Regions from separate parts of the Homo sapiens genome. Here region 2 is linked to region 1. The links are contacts of gene promoters, found by promoter capture Hi-C in blood cells and fetal thymus (Javierre and others, 2016). All regions are on one chromosome and are shown on one strand. Each heading gives the region's core, a stretch centred on a gene start or on the middle of the fragment in contact. The rest is flanking DNA. Distances are from core to core; before and after follow the strand shown. Region 1 holds the start of FOXB1 (forkhead box B1). Region 2 has its middle 120 kb from the start of FOXB1.

The links. Contacts are between HindIII fragments. The CHiCAGO score rates a contact against its expected background, and 5 or more counts as called.
Region 2: a contact is called between a fragment that was not itself captured here and the fragment with the promoter of FOXB1 in region 1, in 4 of 17 cell types (activated CD4 T cells, naive CD4 T cells, total CD4 T cells and 1 more). The highest score is 7.6, in activated CD4 T cells.

Annotation. Positions count from the first base shown.
Region 1 is chr15:60,002,870-60,005,954 of GRCh38, forward strand. FOXB1 (forkhead box B1) reads left to right here and starts at 1,442. Exons shown (of 2, transcript NM_012182.3): 1 at 1,442-1,774; 2 at 2,038-3,085. The coding sequence starts at 2,095. The coding sequence ends at 3,072. RefSeq lists an enhancer at 1,123-1,638. The HindIII fragment of the contact is 10,028 bases long and covers 1-3,085 here.
Region 2 is chr15:60,125,461-60,128,545 of GRCh38, forward strand. No RefSeq gene overlaps it. Among named protein-coding and RNA genes, the nearest start is that of FOXB1, 120 kb to the left of the region's middle. RefSeq lists an enhancer at 2,419-2,608. The HindIII fragment of the contact is 2,238 bases long and covers 454-2,691 here.

The sequences.
Region 1 (3,085 bases), core at 192-2,691:
ACGCAGTAAAATGAATGTCTTTTAAAAACCTTAAAGGTCGGAGAATGTGCAGAAACCCGTGGGAACTCCTGGTGTGTACTTATAGAGTGCGTGCATGCAGGCGGGGTCGACTCACTATTTATTTCATAGCAATTTGATGATGATGATGATGACGGCAGCGACGACGATGAGGATAATGATAATAATAATAATGATTCATTTAACCCTTCCAAGGCGAATCCGAACCGAAGGGAGCCTGCTGCTCGCACCAGGCGGAGTGACCCAAGGCACATTCCCCGCTCCCCAAGAAGGAAAACTCTATGGTTCTTTCCCCAAGTTGTAGAAGATACTGCTGTCTTAGTGGGATCGCAGGCGGCTTTTGCTACACTCTAAATCCTAAATAAGTTCTCCATACCAAAAAAAGCGGCAGTTGGGGGATGGGGGGTGGGAGGTTGGGGGGGTGGGAGGGCTGGGAAGGGGAGTTCCGGGTGTAAAATGAAAACTTCCAGGATGTGCCTGAGTCCTAAAGTTTCAAACCACCTGGGAAAAGCGAGAGCCCCTGAGGCTTACCTGGTGATAAACTGTGTCAAACAAACTCAGGCCCTCCCCAGGTCCGCACAACATTTGCCCCAACAGCTCCTGAGCCTCCATCCTGTGTCCAACCAAATTCCCGGAGGACTTTTAAAGCAAATACCTGGACTCTTCGCCCAGATACACTATTTTAATTTTTAAAAATTTGGTCAATACAGTTACATTCAAAATGGGTTCTTACATGGGGATGTCCAATCACATTTTGAAAGTATTTGTAAACCCCATCACTTTTTCAAAGCTACACACTAACTATACAAAGCTGAAGCAGCTGCATAGGAAAGTCAAGTCAAATTTCGACCTAACTCTCCGGGGACTGGGGGGCAAGGGTGTGTTTTCATTATTATAACCCATGCAACCAACCCCGGGTAGTGCTAAGCGCAGGAAAAGGGTCGGCTTCAGGGGAAAGCCGTGCCTAAAGTTACCTAACGATACAAACCGGATACAACGCAGAGGAAACAGAATACCCCAGCCAAGCAATTTCCATGTCAAACATCATCCGCGCGGCTGCTCCATCTGTGAACGTGAGTGGTCGCCTGGCTCCCTCTTCCGCGGCGGCCGCTTCCTCATACCTTCACACGGCGCACACCGGCCGGCGCGTCCAGCTGCCTGCCCAGTGGCCGAGGCTCTTCCCCCTCGCCCAGTCTTGAGCTGGAAGTGATTCCTATTGGCCAAGGTGTCCATGTAAATAGGTGTGAAAGAAACCAGAGCTGGCCGGGCTCTCCCTTCTCGCTCAGTCCCCTCCCTCTGCAGCCCCCGCTCCCCCTCCTCTTCCTCCTCCTCCCAAGGCGATTGTCATATGATAGCTAAGAAGTGGCACATTAATGAAGCGCCGCTACAGGGGTCTTTTCTGCTCCTGTCACCGCTTAAAACTATCAGATGGTTCGAGGGAGGACATGGAGGCAGCCACCTAGCTCAGCGGAGACGCGGAGCCCACAGCAGCGCCCTCCGGAGCCCTAACACGTCGCTGCCACCATCCGCGCCGGGACTCCGCAGCCGAGCTCGGCCGCCCGCAGGACGCTCCAGGAGCGTCGCGGACCGGGCGGCACGGGACGCTGCGGGGCTGAGCTCAAGAGCCCAGGTTCGCGCCGAGTCCAACCGGACCCGGACGCTGCGCGCGGAGTGCGCGTCGAGTGCGCGCCGAGAGAGAAGCGGCGCGCAGCGGCGTCCTCCCGGATGCGGACGCGCAACTTGAAGCAACTTTAAGGTGAGCAGCTCTCTGTTCCGTCCCTGCCCCCTATTCTGGCCCCAGTACCGACTTACTTCCCGGCTATCCTCGCGCCGTTCGCCGGCTTCCCCTCCCGCGCCCACTAAGCCCGCAAAGTTGCTGGCGAAAGAGTCCGGGCGCTGGCTGATCGAGCGCCGCAGGCCCCACCCCCGACCCCCGAAGTCTGTTACTCGGTCTGGCTGACCCCGCCGGTGTCTCTGTGCATCCATGCTACCTTTCCCTATTACCCACCCCCTTCCCAGATCCGAGCAGTCCGCCGGCCCGCGCGGACCCAGAGCAAGAAGAGGGCGAGGAAGAAGATGCCTCGGCCCGGCCGCAACACGTACAGCGACCAGAAGCCGCCCTACTCGTACATCTCGCTGACCGCTATGGCCATCCAGAGCTCTCCCGAGAAGATGCTGCCGCTGAGCGAGATCTACAAGTTCATCATGGACCGCTTCCCCTACTACAGGGAGAACACGCAGCGCTGGCAGAACAGTCTGCGCCACAACCTCTCCTTCAACGACTGCTTCATCAAGATCCCGCGGCGGCCGGACCAGCCAGGCAAGGGCAGCTTCTGGGCGCTGCACCCAAGCTGCGGGGACATGTTCGAGAACGGCAGCTTCCTGCGGCGCCGCAAGCGCTTCAAGGTGCTTAAGTCCGACCACCTGGCGCCCAGCAAGCCAGCCGACGCGGCGCAGTACCTGCAGCAGCAGGCCAAGCTGCGGCTCAGCGCGCTGGCGGCCTCGGGCACGCACCTGCCACAGATGCCCGCCGCCGCCTACAACTTGGGCGGCGTGGCGCAGCCCTCGGGCTTCAAGCACCCCTTCGCCATCGAGAACATCATCGCGCGGGAATACAAGATGCCTGGGGGGCTGGCCTTCTCCGCCATGCAGCCGGTGCCCGCTGCCTACCCGCTCCCCAACCAGTTGACTACCATGGGCAGCTCGCTGGGCACCGGCTGGCCACACGTGTATGGCTCCGCCGGCATGATCGACTCGGCCACCCCCATCTCCATGGCGAGTGGCGACTACAGCGCCTACGGCGTGCCGTTGAAGCCGCTGTGCCACGCGGCGGGCCAAACGCTGCCCGCCATCCCCGTGCCCATTAAGCCCACGCCGGCCGCCGTGCCCGCGCTGCCTGCGCTGCCAGCGCCCATCCCCACCTTGCTCTCGAACTCGCCGCCCTCGCTCAGCCCCACGTCCTCGCAAACAGCCACCAGCCAAAGCAGCCCCGCCACCCCCAGCGAAACGCTCACCAGCCCGGCCTCCGCCTTGCACTCGGTGGCGGTGCACTGACCCGCAGGAGCCC
Region 2 (3,085 bases), core at 323-2,822, 120 kb after region 1:
AGAGGGTGCCAAGGCCGATTGAGTTTAGTAAATCCCCTGCTAGAGCAGTCTGTAGCTCTGTGCTGATGAAAAATCTCAGAAGACAGAAATGGGGAAGTGTGGATGCTGGGGAGGGAGATGAAGAGAGGTTGGTTGGTAATCCCAGAACTACGGGAGGCCGAGCTGTGTGGATCATTTGAGGTCAGGAGTTTGAGACCAGCCTGACCAACATAGTGAAACCCTGTCTCTCCTAAAAAATACAAAAATTAGCCAGGCGTGGTGGCGTGTGCCTGTAGTCCCAACTACTCAGGGAGCTGAGGTAGGAGAATCGCTTGAACACGGGAGGTGGAGGATGCAGTGAACTGAGATCACGGCACTGCCCGCCAGCCTGGGTGACAGAGTGAGACTCTGTCTCAAAAAAAAAAGAGAGACAGAGAGAGGTTGGTTATAGGTACAAAATAGTTAGAAGAAATAAGCTTTAATGTTTGATAGCAGACTAGGGTGACTACACTTAGCAAGAATATTAGGTACATTTCAAAGTAACTAGATGAGAGAACTTGAAATGATACCAACACAAAAATAATGATAAACACTGAGGGTGATGGATAACCCAGATATCCTGGCTTGATCATTACACATTCTATGCATGTAACAAACACATGTACCCCACACACATGTAAAATATTATGTATCAATAAAAGAGAAAACAACACATTCTAAACAATCTAGGAGAAGCTGACAGCCCTCAGTTACAGCATTTTGCACCGCATTTGAGTAGTAATTCTAAGAAGGTGCCACAGAGAGGGCTAGCAGCATGGCTTCTGGTTAACGCTGCACTGACCCAGAAGAATCCAGCTATTGGACTACTTGAGAGATGGAGAGAGACAGCTCTTCTTGCCTTCCTGCCTAGTTTACCCTGTGCACACCTCCAAATTTGCTCACAGAAGGGGAAGCATCTGCTGTGTGGTTGCAGCCATCGCACCCAACCTGCTTAGTGCAGGGTACTCCCTAAATTGTAAGATGTGATCACACATTTGAACATGAGAAAGCATTAAGGGGTTATTGGTTTACAGTTGCATGTGCTTAAGGAACTAAGTTGTACATGAAAAACACAAAAACGAAAGCAGGGAGTAGATTGTAGAATGAGCCCTGTGTGTGAAATTGGCAGACCTGTCAGTCCCAGGTTTGCCTCCAGCTGGCTACCCATTATTAACACAGGACCTAGCCTTCTAGGGCTGTGTGACCTCATCTATTGAATGTCTGTCTGTCTGTCTGTCTGTCTATCTATCTATCTATCTATCTATCTATCTATCCACCTACCTACCTATCAATCTATCTATCTATCTGTCTATCTATCTATCTATCTATCTATCTATCTATCCATCTGTCCGTCTGTCGGTCCATCCATCCATCCATCCGTCCATCCATCCGTCCGTCTATCCATCCATCCATCCATCCATCCATCCATCCATCCAGCCATCCTCTCATTCCATGAATAGTTTTTTTTGAGTGCCCAGTATGTGCCAAGTACTACACTAGGCAGTAGGCAGGCATGTCTGCCTCCAGAAGATGACAGATTTCCTAAAGCAGTGTACATTACTTCTGGATTATCTTTGTCAGGCTCCACTTCCCCTTTACCTTTTTTTTTTTTTTTTTTTGCACAAGTAATTGTGAGTAACTATAGGCACTTTTGAGAAGGGTGGCTTTCAGCTAAACCTAAAAGAAACTTCTGGGTAAATATAAATGATCAGCATAAAAACAACATAGTCGTTCTCTTGGGATTTTAAAACTGACATGGTGACAAATTGTTGATGGAGGATGGACAGCTTCCAGGGCAGAGAAAGTGAACTGGTGGCCCTGGCCAGGCCAGCCCAGCCCACAGCTGTGCTCAGTTAGGCTTGCCTGGTGTACCCACACAGCTGTTTTTCTCCTAACAGAGATTTGTTTCTCTAGACCACCGACTTTATCAAAAGTGGGAAAATCAGAATAGGATTAAGAACAAGAGATCTTTTCCAAAAAATTGTATTGACCATGCAGTGGGCTCTACCCTTTTTTGTTTTCTGTGTTTGTGTGTGTGTGTGTGTGTGTGTGTGTGTGTGTGTGTGTGTGCGCGCGCGCGCGCGCACGTTTGTTTTTGTATACCCCATCTGACCACAACAGCTGTTGGGTTTGTGGCACTTCACTCCAGACTAAAAGATAAGTTTGTCTGTACCTGGCCTCTCAAAAACGTCATTTGGAAAGTTGTTTCCTAATATGAGGGGTTGGGGGAAGGGAGCAGCGGAAGACGAGGAGAGGGTGCCCCCTTTCTGTAACTTCCCAGCTACAGCAGAGACAGACAAATCTCACACTGTAAGCCGAGACAGGCTGGGGATTATCTGGCTCACTCCTGATTTAATACATGAAGAAATGAAGCCTCAGAGAAGCCCAGAGCTTGCCCTAAGCCAGACAGCTGAACCGAAACAGGACCAACCCGCTCTCCTGACTCTGCCCTATGGTTTTTTCCCTCTCCTTTAAGATGCCTCAACCTCGAGTGAAAGTGAAACTGCAACTTCTATTAAATCATGCTTTTTAATCATCTCTGAGCACCACGACTTTTTACACGGTTTCCCCTCCTAGGTAATTATCTAAGTGAAATCTTTCATTCTGTCCTGGCATGAGGAGCCCAGAAAAATGAGCCCCCAAGAGTTGGCTCACTGGCAGCATGCCCTGCAAAGCTTCTCTGGTTTGCTAAGAAGCACTTCAGAGCCCCAAACTCATCTTTCTCATGTCACAAAAGAGTGACTGCTCCTGCAGGAATGTCACAAGTACAAAACAAAGGAACTCGGGATCATCAGTAGAGTTCAGTGTTAAGAACATGAACTTGGAACCAAACTGGAGTTGGGAAAAACTTTTCTTTGGCCCGGTTTCCTCTTCTTAACACCAAATAAACGATAGTACCTATTTCATACTGTTGTTGTTAAGTGAGATAATAAATAAGAAAATGCCCAAGGTAAGTGCCAAAAAGATGTCAGTTACTATAGTTATAAATAGGTAAACAAATGTATTATTCACTTGGACTGCTCTTAGTTCTTTTTGTTTTGGAAAGACCAGAGAATCATAATTCCCT